Linked DNA regions of Homo sapiens: region 1 is linked to region 2. The links are contacts of gene promoters, found by promoter capture Hi-C in blood cells and fetal thymus (Javierre and others, 2016). All regions are on one chromosome and are shown on one strand. The core of a region is centred on a gene start or on the middle of the fragment in contact, and the rest is flanking DNA. Distances in the headings are between cores, read along the strand shown. Region 1 overlaps NAA60 (N-alpha-acetyltransferase 60, NatF catalytic subunit). Region 2 holds the start of ZSCAN10 (zinc finger and SCAN domain containing 10).

Region 1 (3,725 bases), core at 1,092-3,591, 350 kb after region 2:
ACCTGAAATGGGAGAGGAAAAAATCTTCCCTAGACTATCTTTCCTAAGAGCCATCAAAACTATAAACAAGTGGACAAAGAAGGAGGAAGCTTGAAAGCTTTATCTTCCTGAAAATAAAGAGATGACATACAAAGTCCAAGATAGACCAAGATTGAAAAATTAGACCACATTATATCCCTAACTCAATTTTGTAAAAAATCACAAATGCTTGACTGTATACCCACTATATGTTCAAGTAACATGTTTTAATCATCAAAATTTAAAAATCCTTCCACGACAATCTTTTGCAAGTTTTTCCATTTCTGTCTTTAACATGGTACCAGTAATAACAACTACAACCTGTTTGTATTGAAATTATTTCTATAGCCCAGCATCTGCTTTCTCTGAAAATTATCTTTTTAAAAATAGTAAAACTAACATCATTACAAAAGTAGTATATGTGCATTTCAGAAAGTTAGGAAAGGCTGGGTGCGGTGGCTCACGCCTGTAATCCCAGCATTTTGTGAGGCTGAGGTGGGCAGATCACAAGGTCAGGAGATCGAGACCATCCTGGCTAACACGATGAAACCCCATCTATACTAAAAATACAAAAAATTAGCCAGGCGTGGTAGCGGGCACCTGTAGTCCCAGCTACTCGGGAGGCTGAGGCAGGAGAATGGCGTGAACCTGGGAGGCGGAGCTTGCAGTGAGCCGAGATCACACCACTGCACTCCAGCCTGGGTGACAGAGTGAGACTCTGTCTGAAAAAAAAAAAAAAAAGAAAATACAGGGGAAAAAATGGCAACACATTCCTGTCACCCAGAGATCACCACTATTTACTCTTTATTATTTGTTTTTTTTTTTTTGAGACAGTCTCACTGTTGCCCAGGCTGGAGAGCAGTGGTGCGATCTCTGCTCACTGCAACTTCCGCCTCCTGGGTTCAAGTGATTCTTGTGCCTCAGCTACCAGAGTAGATGAGATGATGGGCAGATGCCACCACAACCATTTAATTTTTGTATTTTTAGTAGAGATGCAGTTTTGCCATGTTGGCCAGGCTGGTCTCAAACTCCTGGCCTCAAGTGATCCGCCCATGTCAGCCTCCCAAAGTGCTGGGATTACAGGTATGAGCCACCGCACCTGGCCTGCTCACTGCAACCTCCATCTCCCAGGTTCAAGCAATTCTTCTGGCTCAGCCTCCCGAGTAGCTGGGACTATAGGTGCGTACCACCACACCTGGCGAATTTTTGTATTTTTAGTAGAGGACGGGTTTTCCCCATATTGGCCAGGCTGGTCTCGAACTCCTGACCTTGTGATCTGCCCGCCTTGGCCTCCCAAAGTGCTGGGATTACAGGCGTGAGCCCCTGCCCCCGGCCCCTATTCTTAAGTATATATCTTTTCCCTAGTGATTTTTATGATGATGCAGCTGTATATTGAAACGGAAAGATACTCATTTTTGGGAGTAAAATTGGTTATGAAACAAAAACAATAACAAAGTTGCTTTTGAAGACTATGCGTTAAAATGGTAGTGGTAGTTATATTTTTAATTTTTATGGGTACATAGTAGGTGTATATATTTATGTGGTACATGAAATATTTTGATGCAGGCATGCAATGTGTAATCACTTCAAGGTAAATGGGGTATCTTCCCTGGCGATGTTTAACATGATTTCCAGAATGAATTGCTCACTACGTTTGGTGTGTTTTCCATTCCCAGATGGTACTGCCTTTTAAGGTCTATTACTTAAACATAAGTATGGCTCTGGTTCTTACCGCCTTTACCGTATCCTTCATGGGAAGTTGATACTGATCGGAAACTGACACAGAGCCTTCTCACCTACACTAAGGGGGCCTAGGTAAGCAAGATTATCTTTCTCCCAACTTCAGCAAGAGGTTTTCTTACTGGTGTTCAGAATGCTTGATTGAGCAGTTAGAAAACTGTTGCTACCTAGTCTCCAGTCTTATAAGGGGACAATGGCTGCAAGTCATGCCTGCAAGAACAAGAGGCTCACACAGTTTTGAAATTAGCACAACTTCTAGCTGGATAGGAGTCTTTTTAGTTTCATTTAGCCTTGAGTTGAAACTAATAGGAGTCTTTTAATTAGAAAAAAGCTCAGGGCTCTAAACGTACCTTCAACATGTTAATTCTGTTACCAAAAACTGGCTTGGTCTGTGTTAACTCCCAACAGAATTCTTTTTCAGTCACTGAGGCAGAGGTGCTTCCAGAGAAAGATTCTTGACCTACTCATACTGAATAATTATCGTTACTAGAAGCTGCAACCAAAGACTCCTGGAGGGTAGTAAGAGGTACAGAGAATGCAGGTTAGATACAGTGAGGACAGAGAAGAAAGGATGGGTTGGAGGCTGGGCGTGGTCACTCACACCTATAATTCCAGCTACTTTAGAGGCTGAAGCAAGAGAATCACTTGAGTCCAGGAGTTCGAGGCTGCAGTGAGCTAGCATTGTGCCACTGCACTCCAGCTTGGATGACAGAGCAAGACCTTGTCTCAAAAAAAAAAAAAAAAAAAACATGGGTTGCTTTGTAGTTTAGAGAACTACATGTTTAGATAGTTAATTTTTCCCCAAAAGGGCCCATCAGATTGATACTCTGAGATCCAGGGTTTGTCTGACACTCATTAGCCTATGAGTTGTAGAGATGGGATGGCCAGGAGTGAAGTGATGGCCTTGTGTCTTTCTCCCCTGCAGCATACAGAAAGGCTGTACCTGGAGGAAGGAAGTGCGGAGCCAGCCTGAGTTGGGAGAAGAGCTCCAGAGAGTGAGTCAAAGCGCTCTGTGTCCTGCTATTAATGATGCCCTCATAGTCAGAGGAAGCCTACTTAAGTGAAATCCATTTTTGACCTGTCAAGTATTAAATATTCTCTTAATTTTTAGTACTGAATGATAGAAGGCGCCTAGTGAAACAAATGCTTTCACTTTTTTGCTAGGAGGGTAAATGAGTATATTCTTACGTTAGGTACACAGGGATACAGTACAAGTATGCCAGCCTCTTTAAACTATAAAGAAGTAAACAAGATTTGGTTTAAGCATCAGTCTCTTGTGAGTCTGATGGGTAAGCCCAGTCTCAGGGCACACTGACAATGTTAGTGGAGAACGAGACTCTCCCAGTGTGCTGCCCTGACCCTCTGAGATTGGTCTGTGTAGCCACGTGGTGGTCATCCTGTGCCACCTCTGGTTTGGTTCTAATCAAAGGAAGCAGTATCATCTGTGGTGATCCGTCTTACACACTTGCATCATTTTATACCAAAGGAGAATTTCTTTTGTTAAAAATTTATTTTTCATTATCTACTCATAAAGAAGGAGCCAAAGGGCTGGGCGCAGTGGCTCACGCCTGTAATCCCAGCACTTTAGGAGGTGAGGCGGGTAGATCTCTGGAGGTCAGGAGTTCGAGACCAGCCTGCCCAACATGTTGAAACCCCATCTCTACTAAAAAATACAAAAATGTAGCCGGGTGTGCTGGGCGTGGTGGCTCACGTCTGTAATCCCAGCACTTTGGGAGGCCAAGGCAGGTGGATCATGAGGTCAGGAGATCGAGACCATCCTGGCTAACACGGTGAAACCCCATCTTTACTAAAAATACAAAAAATTAGCTGGGCGTGGTGGTGGGCACCTGTAGTCCCAGCTACTTGGGAGGCTGAGGCAGGAGAATGGTGTGAACCTGGGAGGTGACAGTTGCAGTGAGCCGAGATCACACCACTGTACTCCAGACTGGGCGACAGAGCAAGACTCT
Region 2 (3,424 bases), core at 221-2,720:
CGAAGGAAAGCATGTAACAACGTCTAGGACAGAAAAAGTCTGTGATAAATGATCAGAAAAATGGTGTTGTGAGGCCGGATGCGGTGGCTCATGCTTATAATCCCAGCATTTTGGGTGGCCAAGGCAGAAGGATTGCTTGAACCTGGGGGGTCAAAGCTGCAGTGAGCCATGTTCGCGCCACTGCACACCAGCCTGGATAAAAGGCGAAGACCCTGTCTCAAAAAAAAAAAAAAAAAAAAGAAAGAAAGAAAGAAAAGAAAAGAAAAGAAAAAAAAAGAGTGGGGGAGGGGGAAGAAAATGGGATTACGTTTCACTGGTTTTTAGTAGCATGCACAAAATAACAAGAAAACTAATCACTGCTCATCCATTGCCGTGCAGGAGCAGCGGGCAGGTACTGAGTGTCTGGCGATTAAGCTCATTTCATCCCAGTCCAGCCCACGCACGAAACAATCACTTCTCCCTTTGCCAAGTGCAAAGACCAAGCTTTGCACTTGGTGACATGCTCAGGGTCACACCAGGTGGAGCCAAGGTTTGCTTTAGGCTGAGAGTGTAGGTCTAGAACACAGTGCCAAAGCTCTGAAACAGAAAAGGAACTGATCTCCATCCTGCTCTGTGCCATTTTCCTAGCCTTAGCCGAAATATCACAGCATGAAACAGAAAAAAAATGAAGATTCCAAATTTCAGCTCTCAGGGCAAGCCACACAGGGAGGCCGGAATCTCCAGGTGAGATCTCTCCAAAAGGTTTCAAAGAGGTGGAATTCGAGACAAGTTGGCTTCAGAGAATCTCTCCCTCCCCCCAGATCTCCAGGACAAAAGCTCTGTTAATATGCACCTCTGTTGGGGGTGGGCTGGGTAGGGAGGCAGGCAGAGGCTCTACAGCCACCATCCAACATTTGAGCAGCTTAATTTGGAGCCCGGGGTGGAGGTGCTGCCACGAGACCCACCCAGGTCACCTGAGAGCCCAGAGTTGGGGAAGGCGGCAAAGGTGGGGTCCTCAGCCGGGAACACTCCCTTTCTCCCTGGACACAGTTGGCAGCTGCCTGATTTGTTGTTTGTTGGAGGGGCCTCCCTCCGCGTGCTGGGCTGAGTGGACAAGGCCCATCAGTCCACCTGGGAGCACGTGAAGCCAGCCTTCTTCAATGTCACAGGAAGTTCTGCGATCTCCCTCGTCCCCAACGCCCCCATCGCGACAGGTCCACCAAGCTGGCTGGCACGAGGCTCCCCAGCAGACCCTCTACATCCTCCCAAGACTCTTCCAGCCCCCACCCCAGCACCAAGGCCTGGAGCCTCCCCTGCTCTCTCCAAGCTGCTGCGAGCTCCTAGCACCCGTCCTGGCAGCCTGCACCCCGACCTCCCTCCAACTCACCACTCGGAGTCCCCACTACACAGGCAGAGATGCTGGGGGGTTTTCTGAGGACTCCAGGGCCAAAGCCAGCCTCCGCCAGCCTGGGGAAGGGCTCTGGGAAAATGGAACAGGAAGTTCCTTGCCCCAGTCCCATCCCATCCAGGTGATGAGGGGCTTCCTAGAGTTAACCCTTAAGCTCCCAGTTTGGGAGCGGGATGGGAAGAGGGCGGGGCCAGTGACATGAAGACAAAGTGAGAAATCCAGATTTCAATCCCAGCCTGTGTGAGAGTGTAACCACCTCCCAAATCAAGACTGGCCTGGTGCCCCTTGCAGGTCTGCCCGTCTTTCCTTTGGGCTAAGAGCTGCCATTTTTAAATGCCCACAGTGTGCTGGCTTCTTTGCTAGGCTTTTCATTCACGTGACTACTCTTTGCAATGGCCTCCTGTGTGCCAGGCACTGTTACAAAGCAGGGGCTAAGGACACAGAGAGAAACTGAAGGAATGAGGCCCTGCTCTCAGGGGCTTACATTCTAGGGCAAAGGAGCAGCGACGGTGCTAGGAAAAAATGGAAGAGGAGGATGTGATGGGGCAGAGTTTGCTCCATCTACACGGTCACCTAAAGTCCTCCCAAGTCCTGCCAGGTGGCTTTTGTCCCAACTTTACCGATGACGAAGCAAGGGCTCCCCGGGAGGGAAGTGACCTAACCAACAGCGTTTGGCCCCAAACTAATTCCATCCCTGTGCTTAAGGTGCCTTCTTGGGTTGTGCCCTTGGCTGCAGCTGGTGCCTTCCTGAGCGTTCTGAGCCCCCGGGGAGCCAGGACCACCTCTCAGGTGTTGGCCGTTCCCCCGGCCTAGACCCCTCGGTCCGTTGGGGCCAGGACCCTCCTGACTGGCTCATCTGACGGGTCTTTGTTTTCCTGCACTTAACACCTGAGCTCATCCTGTTCCTACTTCAGTTGTCTAGTGCTCCCTTCGTACGACGGTCTTTCTCCTTGGTCTGCTCTGCATTCCCCGCGTCCCGCGCCTCGCTCTCCCAGTCGCGGGCTCCTCCCACTCCATAGTTTGTTCAGGGGCGGGGCCAGAAAACCCCGCCCCCAGGGAAGTGGGCCTGAAGGCCAAGGGGCGGGGCGGGGTTCTGTAGGGACGGAGGGGGCGTGTCCGGGGCGGGGCGGGGTGCTGTAGCGCCGGAGCGGGTGTGGCCTTGGCGGGACCAGGCAGCCATTACAGTCTCGGAAGCGAGAGGCGTGGGGCCTGTCTCATCATGCCCGGTTCATTTTTTTTTTTTTTTTTTTTTTTGTAGAGATGGGGTTTCATCATTTTGGCCAGGCTAGTCTTGAACTCCTGAACTCAGGTGATCCACCTGCCTTGGCCTCCCAAAGTGCTGGGATTACAGGCATGAGCCACCGCACTCAGCCTCTTTAATCACCTGAGGTCAGGAGTTCAAGACTAGCCTGGACAACATGGTGAAACCCCATCTCTACTAAAAATTTTTGTTTCTTTTAAAATTGTAATTTTCCCAATTCCACTTATTTTATTTTATTAGAGACAAGGTCTTGCCATATCTCCCAGGCTGGACTCAAACTCCTGGGTTAAAGTGATCCTCCCATCTCGGTCTACCAAGGAGCTGGGACTACAGCTGGGACTCCATGCCATCGAGCGTTCTTTCCCTCTCGTTGCTGAATGATTTTCCTCATTACATCAGTTATTCATTCTGCTATGGGTAGCCCGTGGGCAGTTTTCAGTTTGGGGCTATCTCTAGTGGTTCTCATATGTCTCTGGTGACCATATATGGGACAGCAGTCTGAAGTAGGTGAAGAGCAGAGTGAGAGGTTAGGTTTATCTTTGGGAGGTAAGGACTGCACGTGTGTACTCCGAGGTCTGAGGCCACCGAGGAAGCCTCAGGGACTGGCCTCCGTGTAGAGCTGCTCTCACTGCCCTGGGCATTGGGGACAAGGCCAGGACAAGCAGGACCCCGTGCGTGTTTCCTCGAATGGCTTATGGTCGCTTCAGAAAGACACTGGGTGTTTGTTGGCGTTCGGGCTGCCAGGGCCATCGAATCCGGTTGTCTGCCAGGGTGTG

Evidence for each region. The method cuts DNA at HindIII sites, captures the fragments that hold promoters and counts their contacts. A CHiCAGO score of 5 or more calls a contact.
Region 1: a contact is called between a fragment that was not itself captured here and the fragment with the promoter of ZSCAN10 in region 2, in 1 of 17 cell types (naive CD8 T cells). The highest score is 5.6, in naive CD8 T cells.

What each region holds. Positions count from the first base shown.
Region 1 is chr16:3,445,788-3,449,512 of GRCh38, forward strand. It overlaps NAA60 (N-alpha-acetyltransferase 60, NatF catalytic subunit), which reads left to right. Exons shown (of 8, transcript NM_001083601.3): 2 at 2,684-2,753. Among named protein-coding and RNA genes, the nearest start is that of NAA60, 4.0 kb to the left of the region's middle. The HindIII fragment of the contact is 4,492 bases long and covers 96-3,725 here.
Region 2 is chr16:3,097,824-3,101,247 of GRCh38, forward strand. ZSCAN10 (zinc finger and SCAN domain containing 10) reads right to left here and starts at 1,471. Exons shown (of 6, transcript NM_032805.3): 1 at 1,367-1,471. RefSeq lists an enhancer at 2,224-2,273 and a silencer at 2,434-2,493. The HindIII fragment of the contact is 16,276 bases long and covers 482-3,424 here.